Linked DNA regions of Homo sapiens: region 1 is linked to region 2. Evidence: promoter capture Hi-C in human tissues and cell types (Jung and others, 2019). All regions are on one chromosome and are shown on one strand. The core of a region is centred on a gene start or on the middle of the fragment in contact, and the rest is flanking DNA. Distances in the headings are between cores, read along the strand shown.

What was found. The method cuts DNA at HindIII sites, captures the fragments that hold promoters and counts their contacts. A contact is called where the count stands out against the background at its distance.
Region 1: the fragment with the promoter of PRR13 here is called in contact with the fragment with the promoter of CALCOCO1 in region 2 in 1 of the 25 tissues and cell types used here (spleen).

Annotation. Positions count from the first base shown.
Region 1 is chr12:53,439,879-53,444,003 of GRCh38, reverse strand. It overlaps PRR13 (proline rich 13), which reads right to left and starts at 2,270. Exons shown (of 4, transcript NM_018457.4): 1 at 2,212-2,270; 2 at 1,271-1,309; 3 at 231-613. The coding sequence starts at 1,289. RefSeq lists a silencer at 2,273-2,422 and enhancers at 2,713-2,802, 2,533-3,298. The HindIII fragment of the contact is 13,829 bases long and covers 1-4,125 here.
Region 2 is chr12:53,725,451-53,729,516 of GRCh38, reverse strand. It overlaps CALCOCO1 (calcium binding and coiled-coil domain 1), which reads left to right and starts at 2,065. Exons shown (of 15, transcript NM_020898.3): 1 at 2,065-2,113. LOC105369774 (a long non-coding RNA gene) reads right to left here and starts at 2,938. Exons shown (of 3, transcript XR_944973.3): 1 at 2,868-2,938. RefSeq lists enhancers at 1,913-1,972, 3,290-4,066. The HindIII fragment of the contact is 5,999 bases long and covers 1-4,066 here.

The DNA.
Region 1 (4,125 bases), core at 1,021-3,520, 290 kb after region 2:
CTAAGGCTCACCCTAACTCCCCCCAGATAGGAGAAGCCTGATGTTTATTTTCAAGATAATCAGATTCTTCCCAGTAGCAATCTTTTATAAAAAGGAAGAATCATCTACCAGAGCGACACAATTGTCATCCCTCACGTCCACAGAATGTGAATCCCCCTCACCCAACCCCTGCCTACCTAGTCCCTCTGAGGGGGGACTCCTTCCCTAGCCAGTCTCCAGAGGGTACTGACCTTGCCATGCTTGTGGTACTTGTGGTGCTTTTGGTGCTTGTGCATCTTTTTATGAGCTTTCTTCATTTTCTTCTGCATCTTCTTGTCTACTATCACTGCTGGTCCAACCATGCCAGGAGCCAAGGGATTCACAGGAGGGATTCCAGGGGCAGGCGGTGGGTATGGAGGAGGGTAGGGACCCAACGGTTGGCATCCTGGATACCCTGGCTGTGGCACAGGATGAGGGGGCCCACCTGGGGGGAAAGCTGGATTGCCATGGGGAGCTCCTGGGGGAGGAGGACAGGGGCCTGGGGGAAAGGGTGGATTAATAGGTGGTGGGTGGGCAGGATTGGAACCTCCAGGGCACCCAATATTGGGGGGATATGGATTTGGCCCTGGCTGCCCTGGTGGAAGAAGCAGAGAATAAACATTAGAATTCCCCAGAGTCTCCAACAACAAACAACAAAAAGAAAGAGATTCTTTCTCACTCAATACTTAAAGGGAAACGGAAAGATGACAAAGAAGAATGGAGGGTAGGGGAGACAAACTTGAGTTGGGGAGAAAAGGGGGAATGTCCCTGGAAGGGCTAGGGAGAGGAGGGAGACAGTGAACTCTGAGGAAGACAAAAGCACTGGTCAGTCCAGGCGCGGTGGCTCACGCCTGTAATCCCAGCACTTTGGGAGGCCGAGGTGGACAGATCTCATGAGGCCATGAGTTTGAGACCAGCCTGGCCAAATTGTGAAACCCCCATCTCTACTAAAAATACAAAAAGTAGCCGGGCGTGATAGCATGCGTCTGTAATCTCAGCTACTCCAGAGGCTGAAACAGGAGAATCGCTTGAACCCAGGAGGCGGAGGTTGCAGTGAGCCTGGGCAACAGAGACTCCATCTCAAAAAATAAATAAATTAAATTAAATTAAAAAGCACTGGTCAGCTCTAGACTAAGGACTTTGCTTTTGCGGGTACAGCAGGTCGGGGGTAGGGGAGCTGATACAGAAACTTCCTGTTATAGAGCCCATCAGAAAAAGGGTTAGGGGTGGAACAGAACCCCCAAACACCTACCGGCATTGGGATTCCACATGTTTAGGTGTGTCCTCCAGCCTGAGGAGAAAGAAATGAGGCAAAAAAGATGACGGTCTAGAGGTAGGAAGTGGACTTAGCACCGGAGCCCAGCCCTAACGTCTTCCACCCCACAGTAGGCTCTCCTACCTGGAGAACTACCACAACTTCCACATAAGAAATGTCTCTTTTCTGGCTGGGCGCGGTGGCTCACGCCTGTAATCCCAGCACTTTGGGAGGCCGAGGCGGGTGGATCACGAGGTCAAGAGTTCGAGACCAGCCTGGCCAACATCGTGAAACCCCGTCTCTACTAAAAATCTAAAAATTAGCCGGGCGCGGTGGCGGGCACCTGTAATCCCAGTTATTCGGGAGGCTGAGTCAGGAAAATTGCTTGAACCCGGGAGGCAGAGGTTGCAGTGAGCCGAGACCGCGCCACTGCACTCTAGCCTGGGCGACGGAGCAAGACACCGTCTCAAAAAGAAAAGAAAAGAAAAGAAATGTCTCTTTCCACTTGTTTCTTCGCCCTCAATACCTACTTGGTTCCTAACACAGGAATCTAGTTCCCAGGGCCCCTCCACCCAGGTGGAAGCGTCTAACTCTTCGGAAGTAGGCAGTACCCGCGAGTCTCGGCCCCACCATCACTCATCTCCCTTTCCCTGGAACTGAGTACGGAGGCCTTTAACCACGCACAGAGTAAGAAAGGATCTCAAACAACTTTCTCTCTCCCTGGGGAGGACCCCACCTCAGGCTAAAAAAAGGATACGCCTCGAGGCGAAGTAAGAAGGAAGTTGCCCAAGAACCTCAAATACTTAAATATGTGGACACAGCCCCCTTCCTCCAAAAAAGAAAAAAGGCAAATGAAGATCCTAGCCCCAAGCTGCGAAGAGACTCTTGACCTAGCAAGGGGAAAAGGAAAAACCTATGGAATCCAGATACCCCATCACCTTTCCACCGCCGCCTGGGCTTGCTGCGTTCTCCTTCGCAGTCTCGGCTCTTCCTAGTCACCCAGACCCCGTGCTTCGGCACCCGCCTCTGCTACTGCCTAATTGGTAATTATGTGGCCGCTCGACTGATGATTAGACAACAAACTAATCAATCACTCTGGTCCGACTGAGGAGGAAACGGTTGCTCTAGGGGCGGAGCGGAGCCCTTTACGGCTAGGCCAGTACCGAGAAGCCGGAAATCTCCTGGGGGCGGGGCTAGGCGGAGAGCGCTGGAGGGGGCGGGGCCAGCTGCTGGGCAAAGTCCTAGAGACACCGAGAAGAAACTCTTCCCTTGCTCTCTTACCTCATGGTTCACTGGGTGCAATACCTTGTAAAATGAATACACTATGGTAAGTGTTGTAATACAGATATAGACAGAGTTCTCGGCAAGGGCAGAAGAGCTGCTGAGTCCCAGCCCCAAGCCTCAATGTTCCCGGCTCCGTCTTACACTCGCAAGGGAAGCAAACAAACATTCTTGCGGAAGATACAGAGATTTCATAATCTCTCCCAGGATTCCCTCTCTCAATTGCATAGCTCCGCCATCTGTCAAGTAGCCTAAACCAGAAACCAAGGAGGGCGTCCGTGATCCCTCTGCCTCCTTCACCTCCCTTACCCCAAATTATCAGTTTTGTCTCTCAAATATATCTGGAATCTCTCCACTTCTCTCTGTCTTCCCTGCTCCAAACCTCCCATCATCTGTCGCCTGGATTCATCTCTCCCCTGAATTGCTACAATGGCCTCCCTACAATGGCCTCCCTTTTTTTTTTTTTTTTTTTTTTTGAGACGGAGTCTCGCTCTGTCACGAGGCTGGAGTGCAGTGGTGCGACCTCGGCTCACTGCAACCTCCGCTTCCCGGGTTCAAGCGATAATCCTGCCTCAGCCTCCGAAGTAGCTGGGACTACAGACGCGGCTAATTTTTCTATTTTTTAGTAGAGATGGGATTTCACCATGTTGGCCAGGATGGTCTCGCTCTCTTGACTTCGTGATCTGCCCGCCTCGGCCTCCCAAAGTGCTGGGATTATAGGCGTGAGCCACCGTACCCAGCCTTTAAAAAAAAAAAAAAAATACAAGTGGCCGGGCGCAGTGGCTCACGCCTGTAATCCCAGCACTTTGGGAGGCCGAGGCAGGCGGATCACAAGGTCAGGAGTTCGAGACCAGCCTGGCCAATATGGTAAAACCCCGTTTCTACTAAAAATACAAAAATTAGCCGGGCGTGGTGACATGTGCCTGTAATCCCAGCCACTTGAGAGGCTGAGGCAGGAGAATCGCTTGAACCCGGGAGGTTGCAGTGAACCGAGATCACGCCATAGCACTCCAGCCTGGGCAACAGAGCGAGACTCCATCTCAAAAAAAAAAAGAAAGAAAGAAAGAAAGAAAGTGAGCTAGGCATGGTGGCACATACCTGTAATCCCAGCTAGTGGGAAGGCTGAGGCATGAGAATCGCTTGAACCTGGGAGGGAGAGGGTGCAGTGAGCCAAGATCATGCCACTGCACTCCAGACTAAGCAACAGAGCAGGACTCTGTTTCAAAAAAAAAAAAAAAAAAAAGTGGGATACAAAAAAATTTAAGACAATAAATTTTATGCCAAATATGTCATATTAAACTAAAGCATTTGAAATATTTTAAACTTTTTTTCTTTTAATTTTTATTTTTAGTGCTGGGGTACATGTGCATGATGTGCAGGTTTGTTACATAGTTAAATGTGTGCCATGCTGGTTTGCTGCACAAATTTTGCTGCACCAATAAACCCATCAGCTAGGTATTAAGCCCAGCATGCATTAGCTATTTTTCCTAATATTCTCACTCCCCTGACCCTACCCCCCAACAGGCCCCAGTGTGTGTTGTTCCCCTCCTTGTGTCCATGTGTTCTTACTG
Region 2 (4,066 bases), core at 816-3,315:
GAAGAAGCTTACCCTCCCCAGTCCCCATCTTGCCAAACTATCCAAATTTAATCTATCCTTCAAATACTTGAATATTTGAAAGTAATGACTATAATTAAAATAATGAATTACATTTATTATTTTAAAATAATGAATTACATATATTATTTTAAAATAATGAATATTTACTATTCATTCTTTCAATAAAAGTAACTGAATACCTAGCATAGTACCTGCCACATATTTGTTGAATGAATCTGTTTCACATTACTTTGTGCCTTGCACTGAGCACATAAATGCTCAGTGAACATTTGTCTCCTGTTAATGAACCAGCACTGTTCCTTAGAACAATGGGAGTTAGTATCACATGCCAGAGTTTCTGGACTGGGAGTATGGTGACTGCTTGTGCTTAAATCTTGATTCTGCCACTCACTAGCTGGATGACTCCAGGCAAGTCATTAATTGTGCCTCAATCTCATCATGTGTAAAATGGGGATAATAACAAGGCGTATTACATAAGCCTGTTGTATTAAATGGGAAAATTCTTAGCATAGTTTGAACAGATCATAAGCACCCAAGAAATGGAAGTTGTTACCATTTTTAGCTCCGAGACTGTTTTCTCGTAGACCTTTATTTTGGGCGGAAGACAAGAGCCAAGAACTCTTGAGACTTGGGTCCTTGAACAGACCTCACTCTTAACCCACTCCAGACCTTGAGCTACCTCCTCATCCAGAAACTGGTTCCCTAACTCATAAATCCTGACTAATGACACAGACACATCACCTTAATGTTTGTGCAGCCCAGTAACTAATTTTTAAGTGCCTGGAGATCTTCAGATGAAAGACACTGAGGGCAGACACCGCATTCAGTCATAAAAGCAAAACACTACCAAAAAACTTGGAAAAGGCAGAAGCTCCATAACTTAGTGCAGTAGAGAATTAAAGCAGGCACCTAGGAAGAGGAAATCAATCCTTAAGACTGTAATCCTTTAATGCAGAGCCAGAGAAAGAGGTAATTCTGAATGCCTCCGACTACAGGGATGGAGAATAGCGAGAGGGGGGACAGGATGCCCAAGTCTATAACGTGACTTGGGGTGTGGGAGACGTGTCAATCTTTCACCTCTCCTAAATAAAAACCGGAACGTCAACATGTATTGTTATCCTAATTAATTTAAGCCACTTAAAAGGCTTGGGCAAACAGGCCCCATAAGTGGCTTGTTTGTGAATTGTGACAGGTCCTGAATTATGCCAAGCTCCCTTTTCAATTTCATTCTTCTCATTCCACCGCTCCTACCACCACCTCAGTCAATTGTATCCTCTTCCTAGACCCAGAAGCCACTCTGGGGGAGCCCAGTCCAGATGTGGATATGGTCAGGCCCCTTAGCACTGAAATCCTCAAGTTGGAAAAAAATGGTCAGCTGTGCAGAAGACATCATTCTTACAAGGTCTGTCCCTGAGATTGAAGTAAAGAAGAAACTGCTATACCCCAGCTATCAGTTTCCCATCCCCAAAATGGTGGGTAGCTGTGGTGTAGTGGCAAGAATATATGACGTGGAATTAGCCAAGGCTAATGCAGTTCTACATTTCATAGCTTTGACACTTCACACCGCCTCCTTAACCGTACTTCACTTTCTACATCTATAAAGCGTGCATAACGCTTAACGCCTATCTCACAGGTGGGTGCGAAAAGTACAGGACGGGACGCAACAGAAACCGCTCTGCCCACCGTTAAAGCGTTATATGGAAGGCTTTAGAGCCGTAAATCCTCCCCAGCCCCCAACAACGCACGTTACAAACCAGCAGCCACCCCTAATGCAGCCGGCCCCCTCCTAAGGGATCATGGGCCTTGAAGTCCTTTGCTGGCCACACCCTCGTTTTCTGTCATAGGAGTGAGAACTACGCCTCCCAGGATGCCGCGGTGAGGCCGCCGTCACGGACGCCCTCTTCCCCGCCCTCCTTGCGCGCAGCCTTCTGGGATGTATAGTCCTAGATCCGAGCACGCAGCGGCAAAAGGGCGCAGAAGAACCACAAACCCCAGAAGCCCTCGCGCCCACTCTTCTCCCTCCCCTCCAGAAGTCGGAGTGCTGTTTTTGTTGTTGGTGAAAGGTGAGGGGAACAGCTGATCCGTCTGTTGGGTAAGAAACTTGGCCTAATTGGGGGCGATCTTATGGGAGGGGAGGGTCACCCCACTTTCCAGTTTGGGGAAGGATAACGTAAGGGAACTGTCGAAGGGGAATACAGGAGCGTTTGGGTTGTAACCCTTTCCGTACTGGAGAAGCCACCCCCGCTGTTTGGGGAGTTCTTGGTTTCAAGGGGACTCTGATTGGGGGTGGGGGGCGCCCCCTCGTCGTCCTCTCCTTCTTCTCAATGCGTCTCTATAAAGCTGATCCCTTCAAGGGAGCTGAAATCTGCTTATTCGCTCCCAGGCAAGACGTGTCCCCTACACGTCTTCCCTCTCTCCCCTACGCAAATCCAAAGGCCTTTACGACGCTGAATCCCTGGGGAGGAAGGGGGACCTTCCAAGGTGTAGAATGTCAAGGAACTCTAGAGCCCTACAGAGTAGGGGATGGGACACCCGCTCTCCGCCCCATCATGTGAACATCTGAATCAGGCTACACACCTACATCTTAGGTGCCCAAAACTTTCTTTCGGACATGAAGAACGTTTACAGCTGTTACGGATTTTCTTTGTGGGGTGTATTTTAGGGTTCTCCAGGTATATCTTTGGGGACAATTTACCCCCACCCTTAGAAAGCTGGAAGAATTGCATTTGGAGAAAACATGGATTAGTTTCAACCAGGAATTTTTCAGGGAGATGAACATTAAAAAAAACTTTTTGTTCTACCTATTTGGGGGACAGAAGTTGCTCCTTTTTGTGTTGCTGGCTCACCTTTATCCACTGAGTTTCTGTTTTCTTTTAAAGTTCCTGTCCCCTGGACTTCAGCCTGGTGTGGGTTTGTGATGTTTGGGGGCGTGCATATGACTAGTGACAATGGCTGGTTGGACATGTCAGCTGTGAGTGACACAGGAAATAGATTAGTGGGCTGGAAAGGAGTGATGAATAAGAGGGCCATCTCACAGCCCTGGACTGAGGAGTTCTTTTGATCGTTATTATTGTTATCTGTCCTCACCCCACCCTCATATTTTCCAATTAACTCTCCCCAGCTAACTTGGAACACCCCTTCCTCTCAACCCCATCCTGTAGTGTGTCTCCAGCTACCAATACAAACAGATGGAAGGATGGAGGCTGAGGGGAGCAGAGAGAAAATGAGGAGAGAAATACTAAAGTGAAACCAGTAGGTTTCTAGTCCTGCTGCAGGCACAGTCTGGAGAGAAGAATGTTAGGTTCTTTTTGAACTATCTCCCCTTTCCTCAACGTTAAATATACATTTCCACTTCTTGGGGCCCCTTACTTCCCACTTTCTAGTCTGTTCCCTGCCCTGGGGTGGGGCTTTCCTGGCTCCAGGCCCCCACATTCCATCTCCCCACCCCCACCACGTTCCTGCTAAGCGCCTCACTCCACCCTTGAAGTTGCCGCCTCCAGAATTCTTGACTTCCTGGAATAATAAGTCAAGGGACAGAACCTGTCTTTCCTTATATCCTCCCCTTCCCTTTGTCTCTTGGATGCCAGCAGAAGCTTTCTGCTTCCCTAGAATTCATGGGGGTAGGCAGCTCAGAGAGATGAAAAGAGCTGAGAGCTCAGGAGCCTAAGGATTTGGGCTCAGTTCCCCTCGACCCCCAGCCATATTCTAGCTCTGAAAACTCAACCATTCCTTTCAGAGATTAGTTGCTGCTTTCTGATGTCATAACTCATTCCTGGATACAGCTGGGTCAACAAGCTTAGGAGTAGGTAAGGACACCTCTCTCAATGAGAGGGCCCCACACCTCAGTTGGATTTTGTATTCAAGAGCCAGGATGTGTGGGAGATGGGATGGAGAAATGGAGGCTGTCGACCAAGTCGCAGTATCCCAGGCTCTGTCCCCGTCAGTGTCCTTTTGGGAGCAAAATTAGAGAAGTCTGAACCCTCAGAAGGGTCTATGAGCCAGAGCGGGTACAGTGTGAGACAGGATGGGGACGGACTTGGAAGGC